Regions from separate parts of the Homo sapiens genome. Here regions 1, 2, 3, 5, 6 and 7 are each linked to region 4. The links are contacts of gene promoters, found by promoter capture Hi-C in blood cells and fetal thymus (Javierre and others, 2016). All regions are on one chromosome and are shown on one strand. Each heading gives the region's core, a stretch centred on a gene start or on the middle of the fragment in contact. The rest is flanking DNA. Distances are from core to core; before and after follow the strand shown. Region 1 has its middle 150 kb from the start of SAMSN1-AS1. Region 2 has its middle 130 kb from the start of ASMER1. Region 3 has its middle 120 kb from the start of SAMSN1-AS1. Region 4 holds the start of HSPA13 (heat shock protein family A (Hsp70) member 13). Region 5 overlaps ASMER1 (adipocyte associated metabolic related lncRNA 1). Region 6 has its middle 170 kb from the start of ASMER1. Region 7 has its middle 150 kb from the start of ASMER1.

Region 1 (3,163 bases), core at 262-2,761, 350 kb before region 4:
GGCTTATAAATGCATCATTCCAATCATTCTCTGCCTCCACCATCATAGGGCCATTTTCTCCCTATGTTTTCTCTGTGTCTCTTCTCTTAAATACAGTATTTATATTGGATTAAAGGCCCACTCTACTCCAGCAAGATCTCATCTTAACTAATGACGTCTGCAATGACACTATTCCCAAATAAGGTCACTTCCTGAGATGCTGGAGGTTAGGACTTCAACATACTTTTTTGGGGGACACAATTCAACCCGTAACAATTTCTTATACTAGAAACTTGGTTCATACAATCTATTTCTTTCCATTGCAATGTAAGAAAATAATTTAAACAGCAACCTCACAGACACTAAATCTTCCTGGTTTTGATCTAATAAAAATCTTGGTTGTACTTGACATATGATTTTGTTTGCATCCACTTTTATATAGAAACTCTCTTTTACATTATTACTAAAGTAACCATCTTTTGATCACAGTTTGTTCTAAGTTTCTTAGAATGCTTCTTGCTCAGTCTACTGAACTGAGATGTAAACTCAGCAACTATTTGCTGTAGACTCTGCTTTACAATATGGCTTGGGGACGAGAAAGTCCCTGTGGGTCTGTGGTATCTAACATAGTAGCCACCAGCTCCATGTGGCTATTGAGCATTTGGAATATGACTAGTGTGACCAAATTTTAAATATTATTTAATTTTTAGTAATTTAAGTTTAAATAGCTACGTGTGGCTGATGGCTGCTGTATTGGACAGCACCTCCTAGAGTAGCGCTGCATTGTGGCCCCGGTAAAAATGCTTCCTAAATGAAGTAACTGAAACCTGACTCAAACTATGTTAAAAAAAAAAAAAAGAAGAAGTTGTCAAGATACACAGTGACTCACAGACCCCAAGAACAGAAATTTATCTGGGACCAGGAATAATGAAAACCTGGTACACAAATGTCATCAAGACTCTTGACTCTGCTCTCTGAGCATCTGTTCACTTGATATTTGTATGAGAGTGATGATTATGTCCTCTTTTAAAAATTACCCTTTAATAGTTTTGAAGTTTCCACCAAGATGCCCAAAATTCATGTGACATAGCCTGGTAAGCCACATTGCTGGAGAGGTGCACCTCATAGGCAGCCTAAGCCCAGACACCTCTCTTCTTGACTCCCAGAAGTGAATCACAATCCGCAATAGAACTATACATTTACTTAACCTCTGTTTCTGTAATTCTTTTTCCTTTCTAATGATCTCGTGTTTTGTTTTTGTTTCTGGTTTGTGCATGGCCAATGAGTTATGCACTGGTGGTAGTGATAATTGGGAATTTGTTTTTATGGTCTGATTATTTGTGGTCTCTGTAGATGGTAGATAGAGATATATTCTCTGTTGGGTAAGAGACAAGAGGTAAACTCGTTTACTAATGTTTTTGCTTGTTTGTTAACTTGTTTATTTTTGTGCTTAGAATACTTAAGAATTTTGTGCTCACTAGAAAGGAGTGCAGCTATTTGATATCTGGACTGAGATTTTTGTGTTTCTCTGTTTACAGTTGACCTGTGGCTAAAGTTTTAAATCTGAAACTATACACTCTTGGTGACTCTGTATGTTTATGCTTCTATAATTCAGAAAAAACTTTAACTGTAAACTATCTTCTTGGCTGGGCGTGGTGGCTCATGCCTGTAATCCCAGCATTTTGGGAGGCTGAGGCAGGCGGATCACGAGATCAGGAGATCGAGACCTTCCTGGCTAACACGGTGAAACCCCGTCTCTACTAAAAATACAAAAAATTAGCCAGGGGCGGTGGCGGGTGCCTGTAGTCCCAGCTACTCGGGAGGCTGAGGCAGGAGAATGGCATGAACCCAGGAGGCAGAGCTTGCAGTGAGCTGAGATTTTGCCACTGCACTCCAGCCTGAGCGACAGAGCAAGACTCTGTTTCAAAAAAAAAAAAAAAAAAAAACTTCCTATCTTTAGATGATACTTAATTAGACTGCAAAGCCTCTAAAGTTATAGGAGCTGTATTCTGAGTAGATTAAAAATACATAAAAATGAATATTACTAAAATGTCTAGAAAAATAAAAAATAAACTTCTAATACTTTAAATGTGCTTGAATTAAAACATTCTTACGTGAGTTAACTTGGAAATGCTTTAAGAACTCCAATTTCTATAACAAAGGTAAATCTTTGGTAAATGAAACTAGATCTATAATTTTAGTTTACTAGCAACAGCAGTCTTCTCCTTTTTATCAATGCTAATATATAAGCATGCATTTTATTCTATTTGGGTTTGTTTTTCTTAAACTTAACCAAGTTTACTGATCAAATAAGCTAACATTACTATTATATAATGTTTAATATTGTAAAAAGGACACATTTGTATATATTTAATTATTCTAACAAAGTTTTGTTTGAACAGTAATTGTGTTATAATATGCCAGCTGGAAGACAATACAATTTCCAAGCTCATGGACTGAGTGGATTGCATTAAATTGATTAAATTGGATTGATCTTTGTCCCTGTTAATGGACGTATTCATTTTTGTCTAATTAAGAAAGTGTAAACTGGGTGAGGTGGCTCATGTCTATAATCCCAGAACTTTGGAGGCTAAGACAGGAGGATCATTTGAGTCCAGGAATTTGAGATGAGCCTGGGCAACATAGGTAGACCCCATCTCTACAAAAATTAAAAAATTAGTTGTGCTTGGTGGTGCATGCATGTGGTCCTAGCTACTTAGGAGGCTGAGATGGAAGGATTGCTTGAGCCCAAGAGGTCGAGGCTACCGTGAGCCATGATTGAGCCACGTTACCACTGCACTCCAGCTTGGGTGACAGAGCAAGACCCTGGCTCCAAAAAAAAAAAAAAAAAAGAAAAGAAAAAAAAAGTATAAAATGTATTTGTGTGGCTGTTGAAAGACATATTCTGTGTGTCCATGAGCTTTGCTAATTGGCTAAAATACTTATGTATGACAGACACTTGGCTACCCTCGTTTTCTCTGTGAGAGTTTATTAAATGTTAAAATTAACACGAGTAACAGAAACTACCCTTGGAGCGATGATGACCCAAAATGAACTGTGTATGTATTTTGGAAGAAAAAAAGAATACTTTCGTTTTAAGGTAACAATTCTCAGGCTTTTGGAACCTATTGAGGAACTCAGAGAGCTTTTGCTTCTGTGAGCTATACATATCAATATTTATCAT
Region 2 (3,334 bases), core at 753-3,252, 400 kb before region 4:
GAAGGAGACTTATCCAAAATATTTACATCAAGTATATAAGGTAGTAGAATTCTTTTGTGCCATTTCACCTCTAGAGTCCACCTTTACGGACCTGTTTATCTGCACTCAAGGCTGGGCTTCAAAATAATTATTTTGTAATTTAGGACTCCTTAGCTCTCTTTTATGAACAAAAAGTGAATTGGCTAAGACCAGGATTGTTTTCAGTAGGCTTTTTAGAGGAGATCACAGTGGTTATCTCGGTGGCTAGTTGACTTGTATAATAAGATTTGAAGACGTGGTGAAAATAGCAAGTTTAACATATCAATTAGTGCCTTATTAAAGTAAATCACACTTGGGTAGCTGGAGGAAATTATTTTCATTTAAATTTTGTATATTTTTCACTCAGAACAGATGAATGAAAGAGTATTTAGCTTCCCTCCTGATTCAATCAGATTTTTTTTTTTTTTTTTGTCTTCCAGGCTTTAATGCTTGCTGTGTAATTGATTTGTGCATCTGGTGAATGGCAGACAAGCCACAACCTCAAGGTCTTTTTCCAGAAACTGCCATATCTCTTTTCATATCTATTTAGCCTGCATTTTTGTACTCAATATTAGGCGCTATGCAGATATTTCAAGGGAGTAATGATTGCTTTTTCTATATTCTTAAGTTGTAGATGACTTGAGAAGTGGCAAGGGACAGCATGGCCTTTTTCTGCATGGTGATTATTTTTAGTTTAGTTAACCACATGTGGTGGAAATTATTATTGTTCCCAATTGTCTGCTCCTTTCCCAAGAGGTGTACATCCACTCCTTTTGCCATCTGACTACTAGTGCAATCCACTAGAGAGAATACACCTACAGTGCCATTGGTAAGCTTGGACATATGACTTTATTAGGGGATGTACATGGACATAATATAAGCCATGTTTTAGCAGATAGAATTCTTCATCTGCCTAGCCTGGGTCCCAGCATAAAAAGATACTTGGAGCAGAGCTGAGCAGAGTTAACAGCAACTCTCAGACTTGTGAGTCAAAAATGCATCTATTGTTGCAAACCACAGTATTGAGATTTTAGGGTGGTTTGTTTTCACAACCAAACCTATTAACACACTGTATAAACTGTGAAATTATCATTTCCTCTGATGGGCCATGTAGACACCTGCCATGGCTGCCAACCATAGAGTAGGTTATCTCTTTGAATGCTCTGCAAAGAAAGAACTGCTGTCACCATCCATTATTTCACACATTTGAAGGTAATAAGCAAGAGAACTTTCAACTGTGAAGAACATCTGTAAATGAATATGTTTTCTACTTCTCTGTAAAAGATGATCAATAGACTAGGTATGGGTGAGCAACTTAAGTTCAAAATCAGAAATACGTGTGGTACCTGTTAGCCTATTGTAAGAGCCTGCTCTTAGAATGTTCTCATTAAAGTGACTATTTAGAAGAACCATGGGAATGTCATTCATTCACTCAATCATTTGCTTGTTCATTATTATTATTTCCATGAGAACTAGGAAGATATTAACAGAAAAAGGTGGAGTCTTGGCTTTTAGAATAAGAAATAAATTCTGAGGAGAGATAGAAAGATCCACTAACTCATCCTAACATCCAGGGCACTCTCAGTTTTGTAGACTGATTCCAAAGCCAAATATTTAGCATTTCCCATAGATTGACATAAACCTTAGAATGGTTAGCATATTTTATGCCCTTGTGAAGTATTGGGCAAGTAAGTAGTTTTCTCCATTCTTGGTTATGGTCATCATCTATGACTTTTTCTCCACAGTTAAATCTAGTAAAAGTGGTAAAACAAAGAATATCGGTATACCCGTTTTAGTTAGTTAGTAGTGAGGACATAGTTTAGAAATCTATATCCTATTTCCCAGAAGGATCTGCAGGTTGGGTGGTGATGGTAACAAGAACATCCCAGGTTAGAAGTAGAGTGTCTTCTTAAGAGAATAAGTTCAAAGGGCAAATATCACGGACATGTGAGGAAAGAGTAGGAGTTTTCTGGGAATCATTTCAAACTGAGAAGAGGGGATTAAGTTTTAAAGAACATAGCCTGTTTGGTCAAATTGTTAAGTTTGAGAATGGCCCCCAAGTTTTTCCTTTTTTCCCCTTAAAATTTTGTTTAAGCATAACTTACATATAATAAAATGCACGCATCTTAAGTATACAATATAATGAGTTTAAAAAAATGTATAACTCTTATGTACCACCAAATTAAGACATAGAATACTTTCATCACTCCCTCAAAAGTACCCGTATGTTACTTCCAGTCAATTCCTCCATCCCTGGGCCCAGGCAACAAATTATTTACTTTTCACAATAAAATAGTTTAGCCTTTTTAAAAATTTCATATAAATGAATTTTTAATGAAATCTTTTGTGTTTTTCTTTTGCTCAGCATATTTTTGAGATTCATCTGTGATGTTACTGCATCAATAGTCTATCTTTTTCTGCTGCAGTGTTATATTCCATTGTATGTGTATACCACATTCTATTTTAACCATTTACCTGAGGTTAGAAATTTTGCTGGTTTCCAGGTTTTGGAAACTGTGAGAATAAAGCTGCTTATGAACATTCAAGTAAAATCTTTGTGAACATATGTTTCCATTTCTGTTAAACAAATATGTAGGAGTGGAATCTCCAGATTATATAGTAGGTATGTATTTTAACCCTTTGAAAAAACTGTCAAACTCTTTTCCAAAGTAATTGTACTATTTTGTATTCCTACCAGCAGTGTATGAGAATTCCTGTTGCTCTGTTTCCTCTTCATCACTTGGTATTGTCTTTTAAAATTTAGCCATTCTTTTGAGTCTGTGTAGTCTGCCTTAACAATATAGCATCTTTTCATGTGCTTATTGGTCATTGGTATATCTTCTTTTAGAAAGTGTCTGTTTAAACCTTTTGGACATTTTAAATTGCGTGTGTGTATGTGTGTGTGCGCATGTTCTTATTTTTAAGTTTAAGAGTTATTTATATTTTCTGCAGATATATTCTTTGCCAGATTATGGATTACCCAACCTGTGGCTTGTTCCTTCACTTCTTAACATTTTTTAGTGAAGAGTAGAAGTTTTTAATCTTAATAAGGTCCAATATATTCGCATATACCATTTGTTTATAGTTCATGTTTTTTGTGTCCAGTCTAGAAAAGTTTGCCTTCTTCAAGCTTACAAAGATTTCTCATTTTTTTTTTTTGCTAGAAATGTCACAGTTAGCCTGATGAGCCACATTGAGTTTTATTTGTGTGTGGTGTCAAGTGAGGGTCGAATTTCAACTGTTTCCATATAGTTATTCAGTTATTCCAGCATTAATTGTTGAAAAGACTTTCTTTCTCCCATTTAATTACCTTGTC
Region 3 (3,270 bases), core at 320-2,819, 320 kb before region 4:
GGGATGATTCATGGATATAAAAGCATCCTCTATTTTATATTGAGCTTATATCATCACCTGGATTAATTTCAAGCCCACTGGCTTGAATGCTTTATCTATAGATTTATTTGATTCTTAAATAACATTTTGAGAAACTCTAATGTCGCTGATGAGGCTTATAAGGACGATTCACAAGAAAACCTATTTGTTTCTCTATATTTGCTTGTTTGCACATCATTCCTCCTGTTGGATTAGTGAGCAGAAGGAATTGTAAAACCACAGGGGAACGGTTTAAATGGGATAATGCAGACATTAGAGAATGATTAACAGTAATTTCACAAAGGTAGAAGGTAAGCTGCTCATTTTTATGGAACGGAACAAATGTGTTTGGAATGATTAACAAAATAAGACATCAAAAAATAGAAAAATGTAGCCACTCAATTCTGCTTGGGCAACAAACCATATGAGATATAAATGCAAATGCCACCCCCCCGACCAGTTCACATGCTTAACATTATTTACTGTTAAACTTCTGCTGGACTGTGGCAGACAACCACCACAGAACATGAAAACCACAATGCTTATATGACAGCTTTCCCAGGCAGTGAAAAGGCAGCTTATTTGATGTGTACTTTTCTTAAATCTTTTTATACTACACAAGCCGGTGTAACTCAATGCTTAACAATAGCATTTCAACAAAAGTGTAAACATTCTTCCATAATTAATAGGTCAGACAATTCACTTATATCCTGAAAGCTTCCAATTATCTTGTAAAATAAAGACAATTCATTCATTCATTAATTCCACATATATGTAGCCTCTATGTGGAACACTATCCTAAGTATTGTGAAAAATGCAAAGGAATCTACATACAGCTTTGTCCTACAGAAGCTGGGCAAGGATATATCTATTCAAAGTAAGTTTTTCACTAGAGATCCTCGTTTCTCCATCACTTAGGCCAGGTTGTGGCCAGCTTTTACTTCCTGAGAGTTGCTACTGCAACTTTTTGAAACAACTTCCAATATCATCCAAGGACCTCTTCTTCTTTATTTCCTTGCCTCCATTTAGAGGCAGATAAACCACACAAATTTCTTAGAAAGTATTGTCTCTAGATTTTCCTGGCATAGCACCCCACATATTTAGCTTTACTCCATGTTTACCCCACCCTGACCCATGGATCAGAGGGACTTAATAAGTACACTCTGGAGCTTTGGTAATGTAAGGGAGGTTCATTCCTAGGAAGGGTCGGCTTTGTTATTGAACCTTAAACCCTTGGTAATAAAATTGTGGCTTATAGACCAGTAGCATGGGCATCACTTGAGGGCCTCTAAATCAGAATCTGCATCCATATGCACACTGAAGTTTGAGAAGCATTATACTATGCTGCTAAAAGGTAAATGAATTGAAAGAGTCCTCTCTTATATTCTTAATTTGAATTCAGATAATTTGAATTAAGAGAGAGTTGGCCAGATTATGACAAACGAAGTCTTGAGTTCAATTCCATGCAGTCATTTAGGATAGAAATTATATCTTTCAGCAATGTTTCTGAAATACCCAGAATAGTGCTGATGTGAAGTAAACGCTAAATAAGTACGTGTTGAATGAATTTATATGTCCTATCCAGCATCAAGTGTAGAGTTCTCTATGTGCCACTGTATATACTTGTTGAATACATATTTGTAGATAGAAATTTGGTATTTCAATTCCCATTTCCCAATCTCTAAGAATCTATTATCTTCATCCAAATGAATTATTACCTAAATGCATTTTATTCAGTCAATCTGTAATATTTATTGAACTTTTATATTCTCCCTTTTGCCAGAAAATTGGAATTAAGGGGAAAACATTTTTTGTTGCCCTCAGAATATTGAAAGTCTAGTTCATTGACAGTTACAAAAATATATGCTATAGTAAAGGGATATGTAAAGTCCAACAGAAATGTAGGAAGATAATTTAACTTTTCTGGAGTACACTAAGAATAACTTCACAGAAGCAATGTTTGAATTGAAACTTAATGAATGAGTAGTATTTAAAGGCAGGAAAGTTTGAGAATATCCTAGACAAAAGAATCAAGGCATAGTAGAGCTTATAAAGTAACTTATTTCTGGAGAAAGACTAGGAAGGGACTATGAGACTGAGCAAGAAGGCAATGACCTCACCAAGCAAACCCTTGCATGGCTTCCTAAGGAGGAGCCTGTGTATCATTGTGGGGACAATGTGAGAGACATTGAATAATTCTGAATAGAGTATGACATAGTTAGATGTATATTTTCGACAGTGTGATGAGTGAAGAAAGACTATAACCAGAGTCTGAGTGACCAATGAGGAGACTATTGTAATAGTCTATATTACAACTCAGACTATGACAATGGAGAGGGAGAAATAACAGAGATTATCTCCTCGTTCAAACATTACTCAAGCTTCTCTCAACTCTTTTTCAACTAGGCCTTAACTCTTGGACTCTGTGGTTGCCTCTGCATTGTCTAACTTTAGCAAGAATCCTAAAAGGCCAGTTTATTCATCCTTAACATGTATCTCACCACCCTTGATTTCTGATCAAATTCTTTATCCTTCACCCTCCCCAAGGTGGTGTCTGAACATCCTAGCCTGTCTTCAGGAAGGATCCTGTGTGGTTGGTTTAGCCAGAACTTCCTCTTTACCCTTATGTTTTCTTTCAGTAATTTTCTATGTACTGGCCTCCATCTTAATCTTTGGCTATAAATTCCCACTTTTTCTTGTTATATTTAGAGTTGAGCCAAATCTCTCCCCCCATTGCAAAGGCCCATTCCAATGAGCCCTACACCTATCAAAACAGTCTCCCTCTGAATAAAATCGGCTTTACCATTTTTAAAAAGTGTCCATTGAATATTTTTTTCCCTAACGAAGAAGAGAGAAAATATTTTCAGGAAGTATTCAGGTGTAAGGATGCAGGGGACCGCCATAGACTTATCTATATTCATTCAGCTTGGGCAAAGTGAGAATGAATTGTTCTTGACAGAATTATTTTCACTACTTTAATAAATAATTACTTGTCATGTTCATAAAGTAGAAATAGTTAGTAGTCTTCTGTACATCAAAAGTATGTTTGGGCTAAGAACCTAGAGAAGAATTCTATTGAGCATTTCAGAATCAACATGGAGAAACGCAGGCTAGTCTTCATTAAAGTCTGTGCAGAGAAATGATTCTGAAAAGTACTGTTAAGACTGGTCTACAATATAAGAGAATTGCCCATGAGTTATGACCAATTTATTTCCTCTATAAGGAAAGTGGATATAAACAACACATTCCTCA
Region 4 (3,222 bases), core at 149-2,648:
CTATGGAATAGATGATCTCTTGCTTCTGTGCTCTTGGTAATTGAGTTCCGTCTGCCTGGAACACCTCCAGCCCACTGCCCATTACAAGTAATACTTAAGAACTAAGTGCTTGAATTCTTCACTCCTTATAAGAATCTTATTGAACAGCACTCACTATAGACACACACTTTTTATATTTCGCATTATGAAATACTTAAAAATGCGCAAAAGTAGAGAGAACATTACAATGGATCCCTATCAACCAGAATTCAGCTTCCATAATCAAAATTCACATTGATAAGTCAGAAATAACCAGCAATGTATTCCCACAGCAGGCTGACGTGTTGTCAACAGGGATGGTTTGATTTATATCTAAGCTGAGAAAATGGATTCAATTCTCCAGGATCTTAGTTATCGTGAACTCTAACAGCAAAAATGACAAAACCACTCTCAGAGGAGTCATTAAGTGCTACCAGTGACCAAGATGCGAGAAAAATCCTACTTCAGACTAGAACCTGAACAGCATGTCACAAGCGTCCTAAAATGGCTGTCACGTTACAGGACTTGCCCATAAGGTCAATTTTGGCCACTTAAGACTTACTTGAAGAGAGAGCTAAGGGTTTTCTTTTTAATTTCGTTTTTGTTTTTGTTTTTAATGGCCCACGTCAGTGCTAGCAATAGAGAAAATGTGTCCCTGATCCCTTGGATAAATCGAATTGACTGAAGAATGCTTGAATTCATTTATCCCAAAACAAAGGCAGACGGCTGAGGGTCACTGGAGTTTCAGGGCTGCTCCCAGCGTTGGAGCACGGACGCCAGAGCCGACTTCCCTCAGGCCCCGCACTGCGGCAGGGACCCTTCTACGGAGGATGGCTGGGGCTCCGGGAGGCTATAGGAACGCCATCTAGAAGCTAGATCTCAGGCAAACGAACGCGCTTTAAAAGGAATTAAAACGAAAGAACACAAACTCGAATCCTGGACCTGATTAGGGGCACGACCAAAGAAAGAAATAACTAACGGTTCTCACCCTCCCTTTCATTCCCTCCCGCGGAAAGAGAAAGGCTGGAACTCCGCTTCCCAGAATGCAAAGCGCGGGGCGGGGCTAAAGAGATAGCCTGTTTTCCCTCAAGTAGGATCGCGGGACCACAGGTTTGATTATAAACGCCAGTCTCTCGCCACGGCGCTCCTCCCCCTCAGTCTCACTGGTCCTGCCGGCCGTTGCGTGGAAGGGGGACTCAGTCGTCACTGGCAGCGGTTGAATGGAGGCTCTTTGCCCCGCGCCCTCACGGTAGATGAAGTCCTTGCTTTGGTCAGAGCGATAGCTTCTCCGATTGCCTCAGAGCAAGCGGACTACATTTCCCAGGGGGCTGCGGGACTGCCGGGAGGAGTGGGGGCGGTGCCTCACGTCTGGTACAGTCATCACAAGCCTGTTCGGCGGGACTGTGATGGCCAGAGAGATGACGATCTTAGGTGGGTTCCCGGGGGTCCTTGTTGCTCTTGCGGGCGTAGAGGCGATCTGAGGATGCCAGAGTGGGCAGGGGTGGTTGACTCACCTCCTGGATCTAGCTGGAGCAGCGGAAGGGGAGTCAGAAAGGTGACTTAGAGACGGTTTTCGGCTGTTCGGAGTGGATGGGGGCGGGGACGCCTCTAGGAGGGCCCCGGCCCCTGCAGGCCAAGGTAGGATAGACGGCGACCAGCTGTGTCCATCCCAGGGACATCAGGCTTAGGGAGGCGTTCCTTTCAACAGCACCTAGGTTTTTGAATTGCCTGTTGAATTGGGGCAAGCTATGGAAGGCTGCGAGAACGTGCACCTCCAGGACCCCTTTGTGGAGGAAGGGGGAGGAGCTACATCCGGATCTGTCGGCTCAGGGATGCTGAATTTGGAGGCTTTTTCCATCACATCGGGTTTGGAATTACCTATCCCCCACCCACACACACACCCACCCCGCGTCTCCAAGGTGATGAAATGCTTCTGAAATGTTGCCTGTAGCTGGAAGTGGAAAGTGGGATTCGCACTTGGTTTTATTTCTTTGAGTTATGTGTTGATGAGGATGAGCTAACAATTAGTAACACAGAGCCCTGAAAATTCATGTTTTGGGTCATATGTAATATGAGCGGACACAGGTGTATAACACAGCCTCCTGATACCAAATACGAGATTCATTAAAAACTAAAGGGGCATCTTTCTTCGCTTATGTTTACAATCTGCGTGGCATTTGTTCCTACTCTTTTTTCTTTTTTTTTTAAATTAGTATTTGTTGGGCATCTGCTATTCCTGGTCTGGGGGATACAACAGTGAACGAAACTTGTCTTCAAGAAGCTTTCATAGATGTTGCCGTCAGGGTTGCCCACCTTTATGCTTCTTCTCCCCTAAATATTACCACTGCAAGAAGGAAGTCCCTAGTTCATACTTAAATACATAAAAAGTTAACTGTGTTCTGTTTTGAAGTGACAGTTTCATATCTAAGGAACTTTCAAAATCATTTTATCCCATTTATTCATTTCATCCTTTTGAAAGGGAAAAGGAGGTGAGATACGAGGAGAGAATTTTAGACTTATAAAATAATAAAGTTTTTCTTGTGAGAATTTTAATAATGGAGCTTTTAAAAAAAGATAATCGAAGCTTTTTATAAAGCTGTAAAATCTAAATATCAATTGATCAAGAATATTAGATTATATCTGGCTTTTGCTCCAGATAAATGTTGTTTCTTGTCAGCATCTGCACAAATATTATTGAAATATTTTTACATTTTATTACATTTATTAGAGAATGACACAAACATACAGTTATAGGGTTTTTTGTTGTTTGTGTTTACTTCATTTTAAATTTTATTATAACCAGTTTACATTTTGAAAAACTTGCTGTCTGAGAGGAGTGCTATCAGCAGTCCTATAAAAAATTTTGAAATTTGTCTTTTTTAGCCTTGTTTCAACGAGTGATATTAAAGGGACTTTGCTACAGTAATTTAGTACATTGTACTAGTTTGATAAAATACATCTTTTAATTTTCCTTTATTTCAGGATCGGCTGTTTTGACTCTCCTGTTGGCCGGCTATTTGGCACAACAGTATTTACCATTGCCTACTCCTAAAGTGATTGGTATTGATCTTGGCACCACCTATTGTTCTGTTGGGGTGTTTTTTCCTGGCACAGGAAAAGTAAAGGTGATTCCAGATGAAAATGGGCATATCAGCATACCCAGCATGGTGTCTTTTACTGACAATGATGTATATGTGGGATATG
Region 5 (3,274 bases), core at 191-2,690, 490 kb before region 4:
GTTGCATGAAATAACAGCTTCATGTGATCATCTCAGGGAGTTTTCCTAAGCATGCTGATTGGATTGGGTTAGTATTCGGTCAATGGCTTTTCCATACTTTTAAAGTTTGCCATCATTACTTCAAGAAAGTGAGTCTTGTCACTATCATTAAATACTTATTTGGAGCTCTGTAGCTATTTATTTCACTTCTTGTTTGAGCTTTAACACTGTGAAGATCTCAGATATTTTCCATTCATTATTCATATGAGGTTCATTGGATATATTCATCCATTTCTTTATTTTCTCTGCATCTGATATGGTTTGGTTTTGTCCCCACCCAAATCTCATATTAAATTCCCACGTGTTGTGGTGGGTCGGGGGGACCTGGTGGGAGGTCTTTCCCATGCTGTTCTCATGATAGTAAATAAGTCTCACGAGATCCGATGGTTTTATAAGAGGAAGTTTCCCTGCCCAAGCATTTTTTTTTTTTTGCCTGTGCCATCCATATGAGACATGCCTATCACCTTCCACCATGATTGTGAGGCTTCCCCAGCCAAGTGGAACTGTAAGTCCACTAAACCTCTTTCTTTTGTAAATTGCCCAGTCTCAGATATGTCTTTATCAGCAGCAAAACGGACTAATACAGCATCCTCTACCATTTTCAGCAAACTCCTTTTTATTCTGTAGTACTTTATATCTCTGATTTAAATCACATTTGCTGTTCTTGAATTCCTGTTTGAGCAAAACAAATAAACAAACATAAATGGCGTAGAATTAGTTGAAGAAATTGCCTTAAGGTAAGGCTCCAAATCTGACTATTTTAAAATATCTTAGGTTTATCTCTTTTAGATATGCCAATCTCAGGGCAGAGGTAGGTGAGGAAAGAGCTTATATGACTGCCCCTTCTCTGAGATTCAAAAAACGAGAAAATAAATTCTGTTGTTCAATTCTAAGACAAGTGGAAAAGATCAAAGACTTTATTACAGTTTTTTTATTTTTATTGAGCAGATTCACTTGGAACTTTGGCTTGCATGTGGAATGTTTACCTTTTAATAAGTGATCTGTTTAAATGTGGATCAGAGAACAAGGGTTTCTGTTTTACAGTTCAACTTTTGACCTTGGGGGATGAATGGGTGGAGGCTAAGAGGAAAAGTCCACTGTGTTTCTGCTGAACTTTTTACCCTTAAGAAAAAAATGAGCAAGTTTAAAGTTCACACAGTGCACAAGAGGTCTCCGCTGGGGATTTCTCGTATTATTAACTTCCTGACCTCAGATAATTAAAAAGGAAGAGCAGAGCCACCTCAGACTGTGACTCAACTTTGAACTTTTAACCTCCCAAGTAAAGTATTTAAATTGTAAATGGTAGACCCTGGAAGCTTTCTTATTGCTATTAAATTCCTTCATCCTTGGTCACAAAGTTATAATCTAGGCCAAAAGCATAGCCTGATCTTTCCTTTTTATTTACTTAACCTCTTTTAACAGAAAGGACTGAGAACACTATTTACCTAGAAATGACAGGTATTCTGGTGAAAGAAGTTAAGCTTAAAGGGTCACTGAATTTTGGAGCTGGAAGCAACCATAGATTATCTGTCCACTTCCCTCAGTGTGGAAAGAGAATACTGAGAACCAATTGGTTGAGTGACTTCCTTAAGGTCAGATAGTTAACAGGAGAACAAAAGAGCATCTCTAATTCATTAGCTGTATTTGTTTCAGTAGAAGAAGGATTAAAGCACGATTGGGGTTAAGGAATATTTCCCTATATTGCATAAGGGTCTAGAGGATCTGTGGCTTCTTTTTCTTTTTTTACATTAAAATTCATGAAGTAAAAAAAATCACTAGATAGGGATCAGGAGATCTGGGTCCTAAGTAGTGGCCCCTTCGCCCTTATTTATTGTGGAACCTTAGGAACTCATTTAACTTTTCCAAGCTGTGATTTGCTTTGTTGTAAAATGAAATACAGTTGGGAGGAGGTAATAAGCATCTGAGACCCCTTTCTGTTATAACGTATTTTGGTTCAATGGTATTCTTGCCTTAAGAATTCTCACTGCAATTTATGTTTAAACCTGAGCAGATATACAATTATAGGCAACATCTGTTTTTTTTTCTTTTTTTTTTTTTTAATACAAGATAAGGCTAGATGGCTGTGGTTTTAGGGTAATTGGTTATATCATGCTGAGCTTGACATCGATGGTAAGGTTCTCCTTATGTTAAAACAAAAATCCCAAAGGAAGCTGGGAATATAATGTAAGGAGGAGTGAGGGACAGAAAAAGGAAGAACAAAAGAAGCCAGACAAAGAAGAAGGAAGAAGAAGGGATGATCAGGAGAAAAGGCATCAGAAAGGAGGGTGACGGGGATGGTGGCCCCTCAGTTGGATAGGGACTCAGTCAAAGCTTGTCATACTGACAAAGCCAATGAGGACATTGTGAATCTGCCAGAGTCACATGCTGTTAATACCAAGGCTTGGATAGGCAGCTCCCACTGGCACTGGTACAACACACAGCATGCGGGACAGCCAGTGATCGGTGGGGCCCACTCTTCCCTCCTGCTGTTTGCTAACACCTTTATTGCCTCCAGTTAGTTACTCACACCACTCTCATTCCCATCTGTCGAGGAGCGTTCCCTTCCAACATTCTGTCCTCCTTCTCATATACGAGAAAAAGACCCTCCCAGTGTGACTGCAAACTGCAGAATGATACTGAGCTCTGAAATCAGGCAAGTTTGGAGTGGGGTTAGCAGTGATTTTCTTGTTTCCTAGTCCTAAGGAGTAAGCAGGTTGGAACTACAGGATGCTACTCGGGACCCTTCTGCAGACACAGCTGGAGGAAAAGGAGAGCGAGATGGCTGTCTGGCTGGAGGCCTGTTTGCACTGCCCTGGAGGCAGGACATCCCATTCATGGTCACTGCCTGTTGAAAGTGCCAAACAGCTGTATTCAGCTTCCAACACATTACAGATGTGAACCCACCCATGTCCTCAACCACTCTCAGTGGCTTTCAACTACTTTGCTTCTGCTTTACAATCTCCTCTGCCTGCTCTTCCTTGTCTGAGAGTCAGTCAAGACAAGGGATTACTGTTTGAGCAAGGGACTGCACTTATATGAATGTCTGATTAGGCAACCGAAGTTGCAGACCAGTGGGCTGTAAATAACTGGTAATTGGGGTTTTTGGTGGACAAAATTACCTAGTTATTTTCTCTGCCCGCTAAGTTCTATTCATTCACTAAATTCCTCCCACATTTTCTACTCTTGAGTACATTCTTTCCGGTGTGGATGTACAAAAATGTTAACCTCCAGAGCC
Region 6 (3,230 bases), core at 149-2,648, 370 kb before region 4:
TGATGTTGCTTGGTGTGTATTTCTTTGAATTCATCTTAGTTGGAGCGTGCAGAGTTTCTCAAATCTAGATGTCCATTTCCATCCTTACATTTGGGAAGTTTTCAGCCATTATTTTATTAAGTAATGTTTCTGCCCCATTCTCTCTCTCTTCCCCTTCTGAAACAACAATAATGCAAATATTGGTCCATTTGATGGTGCCTTGTATGTCCCTTAGGTTTTCTTTATTCTTTGTCATTCTTTTTTCATTTTGAGCCTCTAGCAGATAATTTCACATGACTCATATTCAAGTTTGCTGATGTTTTCTTCTGAATATCAAGTCTGCCATTAAACTTCTCTAGTGAGTTTTGCAGTTTATTTTCTTTTTCAGCTCCAAAACTTCTTTTTTATATTTTCTGTATCTTTCTTAATACTTTATTCTGTTCGTTTGTTATTTCTTTGAGCTCAGTGGGCATCTTTATGACAATTATTTTGAATTCTCTTTCAAGTTGTCCACATACCTCTTTGTAGATCCAGTTTCTGGAGATTTAGTTTATTCCTTTGATTGAGCCATGTTTCCTTGTTTTTTCATGCACCTTGTGGCTTTGTATTAGGATCTGTCACTTCTCCCAGTCTTCAGACTGGCTTTGTTTAGATAAGACTCCCACTAAGTAGCCCATAAAGAGATTCTGGAATCCTCTGAAACTTTTTGGGGTATCTGGGCCTGTGCATGCAATTTCTCAGAGAGGCTTACTGTGTTTTTTGTTTCCCCTCAGGAACTCATTATCTTTTCTGATGTCTGTCTGTGCCACCACAAGTTATCTGGTTCTACAGCTGCAAGTTTCCCACTCTCTTTTGTTGTCAGTGGCTGGCAAATATCCAGGGCATGCAAGCTTCCTATCAGTACACTGAGTAAGGTGAGACAGATATCAGTTTCTCAGAAGCTGGTGTTCCAAGAAGCTAGAATGACAGACTCATTTCTCGCTCCTTTCTCCTTCCCTCTTGAAGGAGAAGCCTTGAGTTGTGCATCTTCTCTTGATTTTACTGAGGTATGGTAGCTATAGCAAACTGCCTACTGCCTTTTTTTTTAACTTTTGCTCTCAGTGGCTCCAAGGCATCGAAACTATGCTAGTTCCATGAGTGCTCCAAGTGAGGCAAGACAGAGACTAGTCCCTTGGGCAGCCCTCTGAAGAGCCAGAATGCCAACACATGCTCCACTCTTCTCCCTCCTTGCCAAGGAAGAAGTCTTAACTTGTGCACTTCCTCCCCCAATTGTGCCATGCTGTGCCAACCATATCAAGCCACCTGCTGCTTTCCATTGTCCTCAGTGACCCCCAGACATTCAAATTATGCTAGTTCTGTGGGCACACCAATCAAGGAAGTAAGAGACCTGTTTCTTGGGCAGCTCTCTGAAAAGCTGGAATGTTGGAGGCATGCTCTATTCTTTTCTCCCAGAGGAAAAAGATGTGAAGAGGCATTCTGTCTTGGCACTGAGCTGTGCTAACTTGGGGGAGAGGCTGATGCAGGTAAATGAAATTGCTCTTCTTAACTCAATTCAATTTGACTATTCTGTACTTTGTGCACACTTGGAATACTGCAACATCTTAATTGAAGTCTGGAATTCATATAAAAATGTTTAGTGTGTACATTTGTGAGCAATTCATGTTTCTGTGTGGGAATGAAGGCTGGGACTTCCTATTCAGCCATATATAGTTAATTATGTGGATAACTAACTTTATTCAGATCACTCATGTTATCAAGAAACTATCCATTAACAAAATTCTCACTTGAAAAGTATTTTTCTGGAAAAAATACTTTTTTATTTAGTGTCTAGGTGTACAATCTCTACTTGGTATGGAGGAAGTCTTGTTTACATTGAAATGCGTACTATAAATAGGATATAAGTAGATAAAAGGGGGCTATATCTTGGGCTCTTCACTTGGAAGCTTTAATTTCAGCAATTTGAACAGATCTCTCATTGTTCTGAAACATCCCTCTCCCAGGAGAAGATGGTTGGGTTTAGTGTAGGGGTGAAGACATGTTCAGAAGAGGGAATTTTTACTTAGGGATTGCAGAGTTAAGGTTTTAACAATATATTTCCAACTTTGATGATGCAACATACAATTTTTGTCATTTTAATGGAAGACAATAAATTTTATGTCCAGATATTCAGAGAAGGGAGGAATTGTTATTTTGTTTGTGTGTATTTTCCTCTTTCTCCTTTGCTCCCCTTCTTGCTGGGAGTTCCCATACCCATTTCCTTCATATTGGTCTACTTGTTGCCATCTCTTCCTGTTGAATGCTTTCATGAATTCTATATTTCCCCTTGTAGATTGTCATGCAAGCACTGCTTATTATTTCTTGTTTATCTTTCTTCTCCAGTGACCATTGTGTTTTCCTTTTCTCCTTTATCTGACCCTTCCTTTCTCTTCTTTAGAATAGTTGCTTACTGCTTACAGGAGTGCTTTGAATGCTAATGCTATAATTCAGACACTGATTTTTAAACAGAATCCAAAGATTACATTTGAGGCTGGCCTGACTCAGTATCTGCCATATGCCACTAAAATAGTCTATTGTTTATTACTGTTTTATTGTGTTCTTATACAGTTTTATACTGCTTGGGTGTGATCTGGCACTGTTAGCTTTATCCACTTCAAAATTAACCAAGCCATCTGGAGGAGTATAATTTAGAGGGGGAGCACATGGGTTTGTGAATGCTGACATCTTGATTGTGCTCTGAGGGTGTCTCTTATGTTTCTTCATACTCCAGTTTCACCCAAATAAAGCACAAAAATTAAATCACACATCTACTCGCACTTCCCCACATATACATTTTGCAGGCTTCACTGAAATATCAAGAGAACGAAAACAATAGTCTTTTGAGTTCCTTTAAATCATAACAAGTTTGTGGTATTTAAATATATTCAAGCATGAAGTGATATTAAAACAATGCCTTGATAGTTTTTTCCCAGTATAGTTTCTCATATTTTTTCTCATTTTATTGCCTAAGTATTTTATTTATTTGTTTTCTCCCTCCCTTTCTTCCTCTTTTTTCCTTCCCCTTTCATTCCTTTCCTTTCTTCTCCTCTTCTCTCCTTTCCTGTTCTCTCCTCTCCTTTTTTTTCCTTTTTTCTCCTTTCATCTACAAATTCTTGTGAAGCAAATTGTTAGCCAGAGTCAAAGATTTCAGTGATGAACAAGATAGGCAAGGAGATGTTTGATAGGAGGACACACACAATATATAGACATAAATA
Region 7 (3,593 bases), core at 507-3,006, 390 kb before region 4:
AAGTGGACCCTAATCCAATATGACTGGCGTTCTAATAAGAAGAGGAGATTAGGACACAGACATACCCAGAAGACCAGGTGAAGACACCAGAAGACTGCCGTCTACAAGCCAAGGAGAGGGGCCTTCAGAAGAAGCCAACCCTGATGACAGTTTGAGCGTAAATTTCTAGGCTCTAGAACTGTGAGAAATAAATTTCTGTTGTCGAAGCCATCCAGTCTACAGTACTTCATTACAGCCGTGCTGAAAAACTAATATACCACGTGTCCCCTTTGCTCCAGGTCTCCTTGTCAGCATGACTTCTCTAAGAAACTGGGGACTCTACTATGTGGATCATGTTCATAAACTTATGAGTCCCTTTCATACTTCCCTTACATAAAAAGAGTTAAATCTATAATCTTTGTCTGCAAAATGAAAAACTGCTGGACTGAACTCACATTTGAAAGACTCCGTTTTCCTGTAAGTGCTGAGGTCTGACAATATGTCACGTATTAAAGTCTGCCAAGCTGTGGCAGTGGAGCTATCTTTTGGCTTTTCCCTGCACCATGTGAGCTAAGTTTCCTGTACATAGAAAGATCCTTCTGAAGCAGGAGCACAAAAGAAAGAGACAGGTACTTCTTTTTAGTTTCCAGAGGTTATGTAAATATTAGATCTTGCTGTCTTGTCTACAAGAAAAGTGAGTGTGCCCTCAAGACAAATGTGCTGAAGGAGTGCTTGTTTGTAGAAGCCAAAAGGATCATCCAGATATTCTAAATGTTACAAAAGCTGGTGAAGACCTTGTGTTGTGAATCTTAAATTGCCAGTTGGTTCTTTTGCTGGCAAAGGCAGCAGGCTCTTTTCAAAGTGGGATGACTGTAACAGCAGTTAAAATTAACACCTAGTATTTGTTTACTGTTGCTGCTGTAACAAATTACCACAAATTTGGCAGCTTAAAACAATACCCATTCATTATCTTACAGTCCATGAATCAGAGTCCGAGTACAGCATGGCTCAGCTAGGTCCTCTCAGATCAGCACTTTACAAAGGCTGAAATCAAGGTGTAAGTGAGGGTGAATGCTTCTTATCTAGAGGGTCTGGGGAAGAATCTGCTTCCAAACTCACTGGTAGTTTCCAGAATCCAGTTTTATATTAGAGTCTGTATTTCCCTCACACATGGCCCCCTTAATTTTTAAGCCCAAAATAGGAGGTCTAATCCTTCTTATGCTTTGAACCTTACTTCTCCTTCTGCTACCAGCCAGAGAAAAACCTCTGATTCTAAGTGCTCATGTGGTTAGATTAGGTCCACCTGGATAATCTTTCCTATTTCAAAGTCAGCTGATGAGTTACTTTAATTATATCTTCAAAGTCCCCTTTGCCATGCAATTTAAAATATTCCTGGGAGTAACTAAGGACAAAGATTACAGGGGCCAGAATTCTGCCTACCACACATCCTCAGGTGACATTCTTTTAGTTTACTTAAATGAATTTTTGTTTCATTTCTAATAGTTATGAACATATAATAGTGTTAAAATAGTTACATTGTGACTTGCATAGATTCACCAGTCTTTGCATTTTTATTTTTTTATGATAAAGTCTTCATTTTTCCTCTATAAGCTACATACCCAGGCCCATTTCAATCTTCTCAATACTAACAGGCAACTTCCACAGTTAACTCTGGGCTTCTTGTGTAACAAGTTTGTTACTTTGTCGTTGGTCATGAAGCAGGGCTCCTTAAAGATCTTCAGGTATGGACACAGGTAGAGACAATTCATTTATCCTAGTTAGAAAAATCCACCTTTATGTCAGTGATCCTCAAACTTTAGGGTACATGAAAATCACCTGGAGAACTTGTTTAAACTTCAGACTGCTGGGCTGCACTTCTGAATTTCTGATTCAGTATCTATGAGATACTGAATATTAAGATACTGAATATTAAGGATCTATCTATGAGATAGATACTGAATATTAAGGATCTATCTATGAGATAGATCCTTAATAATTTGCATTATTAACAAGTTCCTAGTGGTATTGTTGCTACTGATCTAGGGCTTACATTTTGGAAACACTATTTTAGGTTATTTTATTTCTATTTCTCTACTTATGAAAAAGCACAAATTTGCTGCTTCGTATTTTGGGGACTACGTGCAACATATGTGTTGCTGTAATTATTTTACACTTACCCCATCAAATAATGTTCATGCAATAGAAAAAACCTGAGGAAAAAAAAAGTGACACGGAAAGAAGTTTCTTATTAATGACATTTAGGGCATTTCCTTGTAGGTACCAGGCAAAGATGAATTTATTTTTAATCCCTTATTTTTTTGCTTTAACGAAATAATGACCTATGAAAATTAAGCGTAAGACAATATAAGGAAGGGTAAGAAGGGAGATCCAAAGAAGAAAGCAAATTGTTAACATGTGAATGTTTTCACTGGGAGTAATGTTTCCAAAAAAGTTTTTTGAATTTGATTTATTAGGTTGGTGCAAAATTAATTGCGGTTTTTGAAGGTAGGGAATTTTCAGCAAATTAGGATATTATTTCTTGCAGATGACATTTATTTGTTTCATATTACAATATTTTTATGAATAGTAATGATCACTAATTCTAATGAAGATGACACGGATGAAGTGCTTGGCATATTTCAAAATAGTAAAGGTGAAAACTGGAATCTGTAAATGGAAACATTTAAAAACCATCCTCTGTCCAATTTGTTGAAGTTGAAAAGACAAACAATATGACAAGACTATATATAAGATGCACTAGGTGTGGGTTTTGGTGGATGGGGGGCATAGAAACCAAATGGAAAACTCAGGGATAGAAGGAAAGAACTCTGATCAAAGACAAGGGAAAAGGTGACAATATTGAAAAGGGTTACTTTGCCTTTTCCCAGTGTTATAGTGGCTTTCCAATTCTCTTCTCTGATCTGTTTTCCTCAATATGGCTCCAACTCAGCGGCTAGCTTCTCAGAACCCAGTCGGGAAAAGTAGAAAAATATAAACCTCAACACATCTGAGATTCTTCAGTGTCCTTTAATGTTCAGGAAATCTGACTCTCAGATAAGTCTGCCCCAATGTCCTGACCATGCGTGTTCAGAAGAAAAAAGCATCAAACGCCATGGATGAAGGCAAATGTGTTTCACACATTGAGATTGTTAAGGAAGTCTAGGATCTATGTGTAATTTTACTACTTAAATTTTATACATGTGTTTTGAGATGAGTTTTAATAAACTGACAATGATATATAACCAATTTGTGGCAAGAATAGACTTAGGAGTCATGCCATATGTTAGTATAAAACCTAGCTATGGGCTTGTCTCAGGCTTCATTGTCTGGGACAGTTCATTACAGAATAGGCAGATAGGGCCATATCCTGTGTAGGATAGATCATTTTGTTTGTTTTGGTTTTTTGAGATGAAGTGTCGCTCTGTTGCCCAGGCTGGAGTGCAATGGCACAATCTTGGCTCACTGCAACCTCCACCTCCCGGATTCAAGCAATTCTCCTCCCTCAGCCTCCCAAGTAGCTGGTATTACAGGCATCCACCACCACGCCTAGCTAATTGTTGTATTTTTGGTGGAGACGGGGTTTCACCATGTTGGTCAGGCTGGTCTCGAACTCC

The links. Contacts are between HindIII fragments. The CHiCAGO score rates a contact against its expected background, and 5 or more counts as called.
Region 1: a fragment that was not itself captured here is called in contact with the fragment with the promoter of HSPA13 in region 4 in 1 of 17 cell types (neutrophils); the score reaches 5.5 in neutrophils.
Region 2: a fragment that was not itself captured here is called in contact with the fragment with the promoter of HSPA13 in region 4 in 1 of 17 cell types (activated CD4 T cells); the score reaches 5.6 in activated CD4 T cells.
Region 3: a contact is called between a fragment that was not itself captured here and the fragment with the promoter of HSPA13 in region 4, in 1 of 17 cell types (neutrophils). The highest score is 7.1, in neutrophils.
Region 5: a fragment that was not itself captured here is called in contact with the fragment with the promoter of HSPA13 in region 4 in 1 of 17 cell types (total B cells); the score reaches 6.1 in total B cells.
Region 6: a contact is called between a fragment that was not itself captured here and the fragment with the promoter of HSPA13 in region 4, in 11 of 17 cell types (activated CD4 T cells, total CD8 T cells, non-activated CD4 T cells and 8 more). The highest score is 11.0, in activated CD4 T cells.
Region 7: a contact is called between a fragment that was not itself captured here and the fragment with the promoter of HSPA13 in region 4, in 11 of 17 cell types (total B cells, activated CD4 T cells, total CD8 T cells and 8 more). The highest score is 8.0, in total B cells.

Annotation. Positions count from the first base shown.
Region 1 is chr21:14,732,043-14,735,205 of GRCh38, reverse strand. No RefSeq gene overlaps it. Among named protein-coding and RNA genes, the nearest start is that of SAMSN1-AS1, 150 kb to the right of the region's middle. The HindIII fragment of the contact is 4,170 bases long and covers 1-3,163 here.
Region 2 is chr21:14,785,291-14,788,624 of GRCh38, reverse strand. No RefSeq gene overlaps it. Among named protein-coding and RNA genes, the nearest start is that of ASMER1, 130 kb to the left of the region's middle. The HindIII fragment of the contact is 2,296 bases long and covers 855-3,150 here.
Region 3 is chr21:14,704,180-14,707,449 of GRCh38, reverse strand. No RefSeq gene overlaps it. Among named protein-coding and RNA genes, the nearest start is that of SAMSN1-AS1, 120 kb to the right of the region's middle. The HindIII fragment of the contact is 1,664 bases long and covers 738-2,401 here.
Region 4 is chr21:14,381,322-14,384,543 of GRCh38, reverse strand. It overlaps HSPA13 (heat shock protein family A (Hsp70) member 13), which reads left to right and starts at 1,398. Exons shown (of 5, transcript NM_006948.5): 1 at 1,398-1,449; 2 at 3,001-3,222. The coding sequence starts at 1,425. LOC105369304 (a long non-coding RNA gene) reads right to left here and starts at 1,778. Exons shown (of 2, transcript XR_007067924.1): 1 at 1-1,778. RefSeq lists enhancers at 862-991, 1,382-1,691. The HindIII fragment of the contact is 7,322 bases long and covers 1-2,301 here.
Region 5 is chr21:14,875,883-14,879,156 of GRCh38, reverse strand. All of the region lies in intron 1 of ASMER1 (adipocyte associated metabolic related lncRNA 1), which reads left to right. Among named protein-coding and RNA genes, the nearest start is that of ASMER1, 41 kb to the left of the region's middle. RefSeq lists an enhancer at 1,038-1,107. The HindIII fragment of the contact is 165 bases long and covers 1,358-1,522 here.
Region 6 is chr21:14,751,596-14,754,825 of GRCh38, reverse strand. No RefSeq gene overlaps it. Among named protein-coding and RNA genes, the nearest start is that of ASMER1, 170 kb to the left of the region's middle. The HindIII fragment of the contact is 1,053 bases long and covers 872-1,924 here.
Region 7 is chr21:14,768,740-14,772,332 of GRCh38, reverse strand. No RefSeq gene overlaps it. Among named protein-coding and RNA genes, the nearest start is that of ASMER1, 150 kb to the left of the region's middle. The HindIII fragment of the contact is 7,813 bases long and covers 1-3,593 here.